Regions from separate parts of the Homo sapiens genome. Here regions 1 and 3 are each linked to region 2. The links are contacts of gene promoters, found by promoter capture Hi-C in human tissues and cell types (Jung and others, 2019). All regions are on one chromosome and are shown on one strand. Each heading gives the region's core, a stretch centred on a gene start or on the middle of the fragment in contact. The rest is flanking DNA. Distances are from core to core; before and after follow the strand shown.

Region 1 (4,638 bases), core at 574-3,073, 240 kb after region 2:
GAGGCAGGCAGATCACTCGAGGCTAGAGGTTGCAACCAGCCTGGACAACACGGCACAACCCTGTATCTACTAAAACTACAAAAAAAAAAAATTAGCCAGGCATGGTGGTGCATGTCTGTAGTCCCAGCTACTGAGGAGGCTGAGGCATGAGAATAGTTTGAACCTGAGAGGCAGAGGTCGCAGTGAGATGAGATCGTGCCACTGCACTCCAGCCTGGGCAATAATAAATAAACAAACAAACAAACAAACATTTAGAATTATCCTGCAAGTATTTACATAATAGCTGCAATATTCAGGCATTGTGCTGGTCTCAGTGTACACAAAGCACTGACAGTGCAGGGTTAGGAAGAGAGCTTAAATAGCTACAATAGAATTCTAAAAAAATCAGCTGGGCGTGGTGGCCTGCACCTGTAGTCCCAGCTATGCGGGAGACTGAGGCACAAGAATTTCTTGAAGCTGGGAAGCAGAGGCTGCAGTGAGCCGAAATCATGCCACTGTGCTCCAGCCTGGGCGACAGAGCAAGATTGTCTCAAAAAAAAGAAAAGAAAAAGAAAGAAAAGAAAAGAAGAAAGGTCTAAAATCAATGACCTAAGGTCTACCTTAAGAAATCAGATTAAAAAGAGTAAAGGAAAAAGCAGTTTGACACCCCTTGTTCTCACTAAGATGAGGTGTTACATTTCTGGGGTCAGTCTGGAATGGGACATATTAATAGATGGGCCATGTCCCATGACTCCTCAAATTGTACCTGGGGATAGTTCCTTTCAAGCTAATTTGATTTTTTAATTTCCCCACATCTTTATCATGGGAGCCATTGGCGAACTACAGACCTAGGATACAGGAGAATTTTCTACTGTCACCCCTTCCCCCAGGCCCACATCCTATCCGTGAGGCTCAAGAAGGCCCACTTTGGAAGTTCCACCTCTCCCAGCCTGGTTCAACCAGAAGACTTCCAATCCAAGTCCTCCCTCTGGTTAGGGAGCACTGTTCATATTTACCTATTTGTGTCGATATTTACAGAATACATACCATTAAGGAGAGAATACTGGTTAATAAAGTACAGGAGTTTTATGATATATCTCTAGTTGAGATCCAGTTCTGTAATTTACAGGCAACCTAGGCCAAGTTACTTGTTCTCTTTGAACCTCACTTTTACCATCTGCAAAAGGGGGGATAACACAACTGTTCACTTCATAGGCTTGTTGAGAGGGTTGAATTAAATAATGTGTGCCAAGTGTGACCCACGGCAGGGGCTCAATCACCGGGAGCCATTGCTTCTACCAGGCTTTGGGCAAAGTGCTGAGGAGATGGACACTGACCCAGCTCTACCCTCTAGGAGTCCATAGAATGTTCCTCACTCCCACCCTCCGGATGCACACTGCCTCCACCGCGCCTCACCTTGGATCCTCAGGCTCTCCTGGTACTGGATGATGAAGTACTCCTGAGTCTGCTGCAGTTTCTTCAGCTCATTCTCTGTGTCCTGCGTGACCAGTCGCAGCTCCTCAAATGTCTGGTTGATCTGAAGGTGCTTCTGGGACATGGCGTCAACCAGGATCCCAGCCGGAGAGCTGCACTGGAGACAGATGGAATGGAAATAACTCGGGGAAGAGAGGATGGGAGAAGACCACAGGCATTAGGAAACACCAATACTACAGACCCCAAACCCCAAACCCCAAACTAGGGTAAGAAGGGAAACTAGGGCAAGAAGGAAGGATCATTTGCATCAGAAGGAGTCATTTGCCAGAATTGGGATAGAAAAGGGAAAGAGAAAGGAGAAACAGGTGACCTGGCAGATAACGGCAGATAGTAACACCTTCAAAGTCCAAATATCTATGTCAGAGCTGCCCTCCACTAGAGTATTCCAAACAGGGTCCATCTAATTTCCTCCCAGGGACTAGAACTCAACACGTCCCAGGTGTCACCTGGGTTTTCCCACTAATGATGATGACCCCTCGCTCTACATTTATTTGCTGACTCAATACCATGGACTGCAGTAGATCCTAGGGACATAGGGAGGAACAGGGCTGTGTGAACACACACCATCTCACTTAAGACCCCCTTGTGACTGAAGGAAGAGGGAAGAGGCCGAAACTCTCACAGGCATCCTGGAGACCCCGAAATGAAGTTAGAGGGGAGGCATCAACAAGCTCCCCTTGGATCCAGCCATTCCTTCAGCACATTCAGGAGAATCGCTTGAACCCAGGAGGGGGATGTTGCAGTGAGCCGAGATTGCGCCACTGCACTCTAGCCTTGGCAACACAGCGAGACTCCGTTTCAAAAAAAAAAAAAATAGAGAGAGAGGGGTAGAAACCAGGTCACAAAGGGAGGGAGCACATGGATGAAGAGGAACAAGTCCTCAGAGGCTTTCCAATGAACTGTTCTCAGAATAAAATCCAAACCCCTTCCCATGGTGTCTGCTGGCCATAGCCCTGCCTACCTCCAACCCCAGCTCGCTGGGAATGTGTGCTTTCTGTTTCTGTTCCTTGAACACACAGGCATGTTCCTGCCCTGGGGCCCTTGCACTTATTGTTCCAACAGTCTGGAACATTCTGGCATCAGATCCTCCTGAGGCAAAGCACTTTAACTGGTACCATTGCAGAGGGGTCATCTCTGACGAGCCAATTCACAGTAGTCCTATCTAAAAGTGTGTTGTTCTTGTATTTGCTTACATGTTTCTGTCTGTCTCCCTGCACAAGGATGTGAGGTTCCCAAGGGCTAGGACCTTGCCTTTCCTGTGAACTACAGAATCCCCAAGCCCTAGAATGCCAGGGGTGTTCAGGAACAGTTGTATGGTTGGAGGAAGGAATGAGCTCCCAGACCATGACAGCACCAGCACCATGGACATGGATTTGTCAATGAGGCTGAAGTCATTTTTAGGTTTGCAGATAGCTCTGTGATGGCAACAAGTCAGGGACACAGGGGCTGTGCTGGAAGACCCTTTGTGACCTGGTTTCTAACCCCTATTTTTTTTTTTTTTATACAGAGTCTCGCTCTGTTGCCCAGGCTGGAGTGAAGTGGTGCAATCTCAGCTCACTGCAACATCCCCCTCCTGGGTTCAAGCAATTCTCCTGCCTCAGCCGCCCGAGTAGCTAGGATTACAGGCGCCCGCCACCACGCCTAGCTAATTTTTGTATTTTTTAGTAGAGACTGGGTTTCACCATGTTGGCCAGGCTGGTCTCGAACTTCTGACGTCAGGTGATCCGCCCACCTTGGCCTCCCAAAGTGCTGGGATTACAGATGTGAGCCACCACGCCTGGCCCTCTCTATCTATTTTTATCCATGGCAACTCCCCACTTGGTTCCTTCTCCCCAGTTACACTGACCACTTACAAGTCTTCCAATGTGATAAGAAGATTCATGCCCTCCTGCTCTCGCAGCTGCTGTCTTTTCATTAGAAAATTCATCCCTCCTCTCCTGCCTTTCTCCACTGTAGCTCAGACATGCCTGTCCACAGGACGCTCCCCTGCCAGCCTGCCCCAATCTGAGTTGGGTGCTTTTTCCACCTAGGCCCCCTTAGCACTCAGCTCATCTCTAGAGAATCCATCACTGCCAGAATTCCTTCCAGGCAAGAACCAGGCCTTTATGTGTTTCTCTGATGATAGCCCAGCATCGGACACACAGTAAGACCTCAATAAATGTCTACTGAGTAAATCCTGAAATCCATGTCCACAACAATAAATACGTAATAGGCCGGGCGTGGTGGCTCATGCCTGTAATCCCAGCACTTCGGGAGGCCGAGGCAGGTGGATCACTTGAAGTCAGGAATTCGAGACCAGCCTGGCCAACAGGGTGAAACCCTGTCTCTACTAAAAATACAAAAATTAGCCGGGCATGGTGGTGGGCCCCTGTAATCCTAGCTACTTGGGAGGCTGAGGCATGAGAATCTCTTGAACCCAAGGGGTGGAGGTTGCAGTGAGCCGAGATCACGCCACTGCACTCCAGCCTAGATGATAGAGTGAGACTCAGTCTCAAAAATAAATAAACAAACAAACAAATAAAGAAAGAAATAATAAATATGACCTGTGCTCCGGTCACTGTTCTAAGATTTCTGTCACGTCATGTTGTGAAATTCATTTTGCTCTATTGCAGATAGTACAGCACTGTGCCATTGTCCATGTAGATGCCCAGTGCCTTTATTATTTCAGAACTGGGGAGATGTGTCCCTGTTACCCCTCCCTGGGCCTCACTTCTCTGAGCCTGCCTGTGTTAGTTCTTCTGACACAGATAGGTATGATTGCTATCTCCATTTTACAAGAGTAGGAACAGGCCGGGCACGGTGGCTCACGCCTGTAATCCCAACACTTTGGGAGGCCGAGGCGGGTGGATCATGAGGTCAGGAGTTCAAGACCAGCCTGGCCAACATAGTGAAACCACGTCTCTACTAAAAATACAAAAAAAATTAGCCGGGCATGGTGGTGGGCACCTGTAATCCCAGCTACTCGGGAGGCTGAGGCAAGAGAATTGCTTGAACCTGGGAGGCAGAGGTTGCAGTGAGCAGAGATCACATCACTGCACTCCAGCCTGGGCAACAGAGCAAGACTGCATCTCGGGGGGGAAAAAACAGTAGGCGCCAAGCGTGGTGGCTCACGCCTGTAACCCCAGTACTTTGGGAGGCCGAGGTGGGCGGATCACGAGGTCAGGT
Region 2 (4,409 bases), core at 1-2,500:
AGCGCCATCCAGTCTATCTCTCGCTCCCAGCGGGCCCAGTCCCACCACACGAAAGAGTAGCTTTGCGTGCACACATTCTGGTAATAGCGGTACCTGCGGGCAGTGTCATGAGCAGGGGCGCATCCCACCCTGGAGGGTCCACGGCCCTGGAACAAATCCCCCATCCCCCACCTAGAGGAGAGGGGAGGGGCTCCAAACTCGGCCCTTCTGCTGCACACTGGGACCCACCCCAGGTGGAGCTGAGACCAGGTACCGGGGCTGGGCTTCTGAGGCACTCGTCCCCTGCACTCTCCCAGGGCCCTCTAGCCTGGCGGGTATTTGGGTGGCATATTCCACTTTCATGCCACACTGCCAGAGCCCCTCCTCTGCACGGTGTTTTCCTGGAACGGGGAATCCCTGCCCCCACAGTCTAACAGATGGGCAGGGGAGGACAGCTGTGTGAACACATCACTCCATAGTGTGGCAGGCGCTGGAACACAGGCCTGTAGGGTGGGGGATGGAGGCGTCCTTCCTCAGTCCGCAGGTTCAAAGAGAAGGTGGGGGAGGAAGGCAAGAAAATTCACTCATCACCAATTGTGCACCACAAATTCTATGCCCATCATCGTGCAAATCCTCACAATAACACTGCACGGTAGGCGTCTTCTTTCCGTTTTTCAGGTGGGCCAGCCGAGGCTCTGAAAGGCAGAGTGGCTGGCTCAAGGCCACACAGCTGCTGGAGGCGGCGCAGCTGGGCCTTCCGGCCAGCGCTCCCCGCTCAGCCTCCCGATTTGGGTGGCAGCGGCTCCGGGAGGGGGTAAGCGCCTCGGGCGGACGCGGGGAAGCTTCGGGGCGGTACCTGTTGGGCGTGGCCTCGGTCAGCTCCCCCGGCACGGCTGGCAGTGGCCGCGGCAGGCGCAGCTGAGAGCCGGACCAGGCCACGTGGCAGCCACAGAAGTCGCGCAGGTAGCGGTGCAGCCCCGCGGCGGCCGCCACGCCCGTGGAGCCGCGCACCCGCACGCGCGCCGCGCCGCCGCCGCCCAGGCTGTAGGTGTCCAAGCCCGGCTTGGCAGCCAGAGCGCGCTCCACCGACACGGAGAAGTCGGCCGCGGGGCCTGGCCCCAGCAGCCGGGCCACGAGCGCCCGCACGGCCGCCGCCTCCCGGGCCTCGTCGCCTGCCGCGCCCCCGGCCCCGGCCAGGAGAAGGACCCCCACCGCCGCGGCCACCGCCACCGCCTCCATGGTCTCAGTCCTGCGGGTCCCGCGACGGCCAGGGGGTGGGGCGGCCCGCGTCCAATCAGCTGCCGGCCTCCGGCCACGTGGACCCGAAGGCTAAGCCCGGGCTCAGGGCCAGGAGTCGCGGCTTCCGGGTACCAGGATACTCCCTTGGGGGCGTCTCGTGACCGCACGCGGTGGGGAGCGTGTGACCCCGGCTCCAGGGCCGAAGGGGACCCGCTGGCCCTCACAGAGCGCCTTCGGGTAAAACGCGCTTTCACACGCAAATAACTTCCATCCAACCATCTAATAAATACACATTTGGAGTTTATTTTGTATCAGGCACTGCCATAGCTACTTCCCTACTGATGAACGAGAAGACGGTCCCTACCGTCCCCGTCAGGGAGGTGACCTAGAAACCAGATATTTAACGTAAGTAAGGATTTCCATCATAGTTGTGATGCTGCGAAGTAGTGCAGTAAGTAGCGAAGTAGCGAAGTAAGGTTTCCAAAGGAAGTGACTTTTAATCTGAAACTCAGGGATGAATAGGAATTGGCTAGAAGAGGGAAAGGAAGAGCCTTCCAGACAGAAGAAATGCATTTATTGAAGGCCCTGAGAAGGCAGAGAGCTTGCAGATTTGAGTAACTAACAGGCTAGGAGGTTCGAGGAGGGATGGGGCCATGTGAGCCCAGGCCGGCGGTGGAGCAGGGCTGGCGGGCACGTTAAAGGCTGTCCATTGGCGGCAGCAGCAGCAACATAACAGGAGCTGTCATTTTGTCAGAAGTTTCCAACCAGAGCGACTCCATCTTGAACAGGGGCTGGGTAAAATGAGGCAGAGACCTGCTGGGCTGAATTCCCAGGAGGTTAGGCCTTCGTCACAGGATGAGACAGGAGGTCAGCACAAGATAAAAGGTCACAAGACCCCGCTGATAAAACAGAATGCAGCAAAGAAACTGGTCAAAACCTGCCAAAACCAAGACAGGAAGGTGACCTCTGATCGTCCTCACTGCTCATTATACGCTAATTATAATGCATTAGTATGCTAAAGACACTCCTAGCAGCGCCAGGCAGTTTACAAATGCCATGGCAACGTCCAGAAGTTACCCTATATGGTCTAAACAGTGGAGGAACCTTCAGTTGGGGGGGATCCCCACCCCTTTTCTGAAAAATTCATTACTAACCCACCCCTTGTTTATCATATAATCAAGAAATAACCATAAAAATAGCCAACCTTAGGCCAGGAGCGGTGGCTTACGCCTGTAATCCCAGCACTCTGGGAGGCTGAGGCTTGCAGATCACCTCAAGTCAGGGGTTTGAGACCAGCCTGGCCAACATACAGTGAAACCCCGTCTGTACTAAAAATACAAAAGTTAGCCAGGTGCTGGGCGCGGTGGCTCACGCCTGTAATCCCAGCACTTTGGGAGGCCAAGACGGGCGGATACGAGGTCAGGAGATCAAGACCCTCCTGGCTAACACGGTGAAACTCCATCTCTACTAAAAATACAAAAAATTAGCCGGGCGTGTTGGCGAGCGCCTGTACTCCCAGCTACTCGGGAGGCTAAGGCAGGAGAATGGCGTGAACCGGAGAGGCGGAGGTTGCAGTGAGCCAAGATCACACCACTGCACTCCAGCCTGGGGGACAGAGCAAGACTCCCTCTCAAAAAAAAAAAAAAGAAAAAAAGTTAGCCAGGCTTGGTGGCACACGCCTGTAGTCCCAGCTACTTGGGAAGCTGAGGCAGGAGAATCGCTTGAACGCTGGAGGTGGAAGTTGCAGTGAGCCAAGATCGTGCCATTTGCATTCCAGCCTGGATGACAGAGCGAGACTCCATATCAAAAAAACAAACAAACAAACAAAAAAAGTTGAAAGAGGCCTGGAATCAGATATCAACTTTAGATACTAGGGAAGTATGATTTTTTTTTTTAATCTCAGCTCACGGGAACCTCAGCCACCCAGGTTCAAGCCATTCTCCTGTCTCAGTCTCCTGAGTAGCTGGGATTACAGGCACGTGCCACCAAGCCCAGTTAACCTTTGTAGGGATGGGATTTCACCATGTTGTCCAGGCTGGTCTCGAACTCTTTTTTTTTCTTAAACATTTTATTCATTTTATAGAGAGATTTCTTGTTTGCTTTTGTTCTGATCATTAGGAGAGTGGTTGAGGAGTATTGAATCCATCACTACTTTGATGACACAGGTAAGAGTCCAGATTCACATTTCCAGGTACCAGGAGTTCCCTCTAAATGCCACAATCAAGTCAGCCTTCATTTACATTTCTTTCTGCTGAACACAGCAATGCCCATTGGTATCTCTGAAGCGTAATCGCATCTTAAGTAAAGCAGCTGTTTGGAATTTAACACTCCCCTTCTTTTTTGTCTTATAAACTGAACTGCATCTACGTACTTCATTCCACATTCAATCAAAGCAAGTGCAACCAGCACAGGTGCCCTTCCCAATTCCACAACGCAATGCACTGCAACACAGCAACCTGGCTCTTCACGAAATTTGGTGTTTAACAGGTTTAACCAATCATCTACTATCTGATTAGGGGATGGAGCTCCATCATCAAATGGCCAATCTAGAACGTGGATTCCTTCTTTTTCAACTGGAGCTTTATCATATGTAGCATCACAAACTCAAACCGAAGTCGTCACTCCATACTTCTTAAGTTCCTCTGTGAACTTGTTGAGAGTAGCATTGGTAGGGTTGTGAGTTATCAGAAAACACATGTTCTCATAGGAGATCTCCACAGGGGCTAGACGGTTCATTACGGCAAATAAAAAGTGTGAGCGTGCCTGTGAGTGTGATGGGGAAAGTGAAAAAAAAAATCAATAAATCTTGAAATGTTTAACAACAGAAAACATTAAAAAGACCATGAAAATGCCTATTATCAATCAGTGTTTTCTCTATTCAACTTGTTTATTCCTTATGAAGCTTCTCTCTTCAAGATAAGCAAAGTATTTAGAATCCACTTGAATCCAAATTCAATTTGGGCCTCAATTTCTGCAGATGGATACCTTCGGACTCCAAAAAACCCAACTACATACAAAACTGAAGCAGCCTTTACTACATTTAGGCACTAGTGAGACAAGTTAAAAGTGTAGGTCACTTTCCACTTGTTTACTTGATGCTTAATTTTACTGGAGTCATTCAAAGAAATATGCTTGCAATTAAAAAAAAAAAGCTGGCCGGACGCGGTGGCTCACGCCTGTAATCCCAGCAC
Region 3 (4,310 bases), core at 1,811-4,310, 200 kb after region 2:
AGGTAACACTTACTGTGCAGTGCCCTGTAGCCCAAGAGGTTAGCACACAGGCATTTGCTCAGGCAGCACTAGGATTTTCTGCTGTGGAAAACCTTTGTATTTTATCCTGCTCCACAAGATAAAAATAAGTGGTTTAAGTCAATTTGGATAGAGGCTCCAACTTACCATGGGAGGTAGGAAAGCCAAAGTTATCCCAAGGATGTTTTCAATCGTACGGATTAGGGGTCTGCAAACTGTGAGCGTGGCCCAAATCCAGCCTGCTGCTTGTTTTTGTAAATGAGGTTTTTTCGGAACCCAGCCACACTCATTTATTTATGCATTATCTGTGGCTGCTTTGGTGCTGCAGTGGCAGGGCTATTTGTGGCAGGGACTGTATGACCCAGGAAACCAAAAATATTTACCCTCTGTCCCTTAGAGAAAAAGTTTGCAACCCCTGATATAAAGCTATAAGTTGGTTATTTGTGGCCTCAACCCAGGCCTCACTGCTATTTTTTCTGTTTACAATACCTGGCATGCTCTTAAGTGTCTAGAATTGGTTAAAGATAGAAGAGTGGATGTAATCCCTGCTACCAAGGGCTGTCAGGCTAGTTGGGATTATAAGTACACAAACACTCAAAGTGAGAAAAACACAGAAAAGGATGTGTGTCATTTTGTCTAAGGAAGTTGAATAAGATTTCTCAGGAAAAGAAACATTTGAACTGAATTTGAAGGTGAGTGAGTTCAGGTGTGTTTGGGCTGAAGCCCAGGCCATGCTGAGTGGATAGCGGGTGGGAAGAGAGTGTGGAAACACACTGCATGCAGGGAAGAGTTGGGAGTCTGGGGTGACCAAGGCACAGGGAGGGAAAGTTGAAGTTATCAATTGTGTGAAACAGCTTTCTGTGTTGGCCTGAGATGTTTATAGCTGGAAGCAGTGGGGAGCCAATACAGTTTTTTACGAAGGTATTAGAGGTGGGTTTCTGTGGGTGATCGTTAATCATGTTTTCTCCCTTTAAGTGTAGTCCTGCTTGAGAAATAGACATGAGAAAGGAATGAAGGTTAAAACATCAGCTGTATTGTTGGTAAAACTAGAATGGAAAGTGTGGCTTGAGCTGGTAACCATAGGGGCTTTCCAATGCCTGTGCCCTGAGTTAGATCTTGGGGTAGAGAGACTGGATGTGCAGAGCAGCACCCCCACCCCACCCCAGCCATCCATATGGAGCTTCAGCTGCCATAGACCAACAAGGCAGAGGGATAGGCCTCTAGACCTGCTTCTAGAAACCAGGCTGCTGCTCTTGCTTATGGTGGGCCCTAGGAAGGCAAGAGTGAGAGGAGGGAGGCACCAGCTTAGGTGCTGGGTTCTTTGAAGATCTGTGTGTACACAGAGTCTTTCTCTCCATCTTACCAATCAGATGAGTCACTGTCACTGTGGGAAGAAGTAGGGGCATGGGTCACCTTCCCAAAACTTCTAAGAAGTTTGTATTCTGTGGGCTTGGATAGGGACCATGGGAAAGGAAGAGAATGGTTGCCCATAAAACTGGCTGTAGTGTGGCCTCAAACTTCTGGACTTAAATGATCCTCCCACCTCAGCCTCCCAAGTAGCTAGAACTACAGGTATATGCCACCATGCCCAGCTAGTTAAAAAAAAATTTTTTTTTTTTTTTGGTTGAGATGAGGTCTCTTTCTATGTTCCCTGGGCCGGTCTCAAACTCCCAGCCTCAAGTGATCCTCCTGCCTTGGTTTCCCAAAGTGCTAGGATTATAGGTGGGAGCTACCATGCCTAGCCCAAGCCTGTAATTTTTTTTTTTTTTTTTTGAGATGGAGTTTCACTTTTGTTGCTCAGGCTGGAGTGCATGGCGCAGTCTTGGCTCACCACAACCTCCACCTCCCGGGTTCAGGCGATTCTCCTTCCTCAGCCTCCCGAGTAGCTGGGATTACAGGCATGCACCACCAAGCTCAGCTAACTTTGTATTTTTAGTAGAGATGGGTTTCTCCGTGTCGGTCAGGCTGGTCTCAAACTCCTGACCTCAGGTAATCTGCCCACCTTGGCCTCCCAAAGTGCTGGGATTACAGGCATCAGCCACCGCACCTGGCACGAACCTGTAATTTTTAAGTTTCATATGCTATTTATTTTTTGTTATTTCTTTAATTCATTCATTCATTTATTCATTCGAGATGGGGCCTCACTATGTTGACTAGGCTAGTTTTGAACTCCTGGCCTCAAGCAGTCCTCCCACTTCAGCCTTCCCAAGTGCTGATATTATAGGTGTGAGCTGCTACATCCAGCCTTCTTTCTTCTTTTTCTTTTTCCATGTGCTATTTGACATTTTCCAAGGTACCAGCCTCCCCTTCTCCCCAAGATAATATCTTTTAATATGGAATTTCATCCCTAGGGCAGGACTTTTTTTTTATTATCCCTCAGAAATATACTGGACACCACGTTTAAGTAGACATCCAACATCTGCTGTCATAAATTGTTTTGAATTTTTTGACATACTTGCCCATGAGGTTTTTGAAGGCATAGACCATGTCTTAGCTGAACATGTGGTCTCTTAGTGCCATAAAGGGGGTTTATGGTATGACCTGTGTAGTGTCACCTGTGTAGTGACAGCACCACTGCCTCTGTTTCCCTTCCTCTTGTGATGGCAGCAGCGTCTCAAGCCAAACAAGAAGGGTAGTTAGGGTGGGATGGAAGCTGGGTAGAGGTATTCCTCTCCCCATAGTTCTGTGTTCACATGTGCATTGACCTCCTTTTTGGCAGCAAGGGGGCCAGGCCAACCACCCCACAGCAGCCGTGGTGACGGAGAAGCAGCAGATGCTGGAGCAGCACCTTCAGGATGTCCGGAAGAGAGTGCAGGTGATGCAAGTTACAAGCCTCGGGCAGGGAGCTTTCATTAATTTTTTTTTTTTTTTTTGAGACAGGGTCTTGCTCTGCCACTCAGGCTGGGCTGCAGTGGCATGATCACAGCTCACTGCAGCCTCGACCTCTCAGGCCCAAGCGATCCTCCTACCTCATCCTCCCAAGTAGCCGGGACCACAGGCATGCACCACCACGCCCAGCTAATTAAAAAAAAAAAATTTGTAGAGATGGGGGTCTCCCTGTGTTGTCCAGGCTGATCATGAACTCCTGGGCTCAAGTGATCCTCCCAACTCAGCCTCTCAAAGTGCTGGCATTACAGGCGTGAGCCACTGCACCTGGCCAACAGGGAGCCTTCTCTTGGGGATACTGCCTGCAGGTCCTGCATGTATCTTTTTTGAGGTTTTGGCTTCATTTGAATTCTCCTCAGAAACTTTATATTTTCTGTTCCCAAGGAAATCTTTCTTTACTTCTGTTTTTTTGTTTGCTTATTTTAAACAGGATCTAGAACAGAAAATGAAAGTGGTAGAGAATCTCCAGGATGACTTTGATTTCAACTATAAAACCCTCAAGAGTCAAGGAGGCAAGTGAATATTAGAGATGTTAAAATCTCTAGAAAGTGAGTTTGTGTTGTTGAGTTGAAAGACTCATTTGTCTTAACTCTGTTTAGATCTTAAGGCGGGCGGGGCGCAAGGGAGGTACGGGTCCTCAAAGGAGCCTGGTCATTAAGGACAGGAGTATTCCCTCAGGTCCAGGAGTATTCCCTCAGGTCCAGGAGTATTCCCTCAGGTCAAGGAGTATTCCCTCAGGTCAAGGAGTATTCCCTCAGGTCCAGGAGTATTCCCTCAGGTCCAGGAGTATTCCCTCAGGTCCAGGAGTATTCCCTCAGGTCCAGGAGTATTCCCTCAGGTCCAGGAGTATTCCCTCAGGTCAAGGAGTATTCCCTCAGGTCCAGGAGTATTCCCTCAGGTCCAGGAGTATTCCCTCAGGTCCAGGAGTATTCCCTCAGGTCCAGGAGTATTCCCTCAGGTCCAGGAGTATTCCCTCAGGTCAAGGAGTATTCCCTCAGGTCCAGGAGTATTCCCTCAGGTCCAGGAGTATTCCCTCAGGTCCAGGAGTATTCCCTCAGGTCAAGGAGTATTCCCTCAGGTCCAGGAGTATTCCCTCAGGTCCAGGAGTATTCCCTCAGGTCCAGGAGTATTCCCTCAGGTCCAGGAGTATTCCCTCAGGTCCAGGAGTATTCCCTCAGGTCCAGGAGTATTCCCTCAGGTCCAGGAGTATTCCCTCAGGTCCAGGAGTATTCCCTCAGGTCAAGGAGTATTCCCTCAGGTCCAGGAGTATTCCCTCAGGTCCAGGAGTATTCCCTCAGGTCCAGGAGTATTCCCTCAGGTCAAGGAGTATTCCCTCAGGTCAAGGAGTATTCCCTCAGGTCAAGGAGTTTTTTCTTCCTTCGCAGACATGCAAGATCTGAATGGAA

The links. The method cuts DNA at HindIII sites, captures the fragments that hold promoters and counts their contacts. A contact is called where the count stands out against the background at its distance.
Region 1: a fragment that was not itself captured here is called in contact with the fragment with the promoter of NAGLU in region 2 in 1 of the 25 tissues and cell types used here (thymus).
Region 3: a fragment that was not itself captured here is called in contact with the fragment with the promoter of NAGLU in region 2 in 2 of the 25 tissues and cell types used here (IMR-90 fibroblasts and adrenal gland).

The regions. Positions count from the first base shown.
Region 1 is chr17:42,292,551-42,297,188 of GRCh38, reverse strand. STAT5A (signal transducer and activator of transcription 5A) reads right to left here. Exons shown (of 19, transcript NM_001288718.2): 5 at 1,396-1,570. Among named protein-coding and RNA genes, the nearest start is that of STAT5A, 6.4 kb to the right of the region's middle. The HindIII fragment of the contact is 8,359 bases long and covers 1-4,638 here.
Region 2 is chr17:42,533,082-42,537,490 of GRCh38, reverse strand. NAGLU (N-acetyl-alpha-glucosaminidase) reads right to left here and starts at 1,250. Exons shown (of 6, transcript NM_000263.4): 1 at 836-1,250; 2 at 1-93. The coding sequence starts at 1,218. It also overlaps the pseudogene PTP4A2P1. RefSeq lists silencers at 748-817, 938-1,347 and enhancers at 207-944, 1,458-1,537. The HindIII fragment of the contact is 7,033 bases long and covers 160-4,409 here.
Region 3 is chr17:42,337,837-42,342,146 of GRCh38, reverse strand. It overlaps STAT3 (signal transducer and activator of transcription 3), which reads left to right. Exons shown (of 24, transcript NM_139276.3): 5 at 2,738-2,833; 6 at 3,335-3,416; 7 at 4,290-4,310. Among named protein-coding and RNA genes, the nearest start is that of STAT3, 48 kb to the left of the region's middle. RefSeq lists a silencer at 4,294-4,310. The HindIII fragment of the contact is 7,087 bases long and covers 1-4,310 here.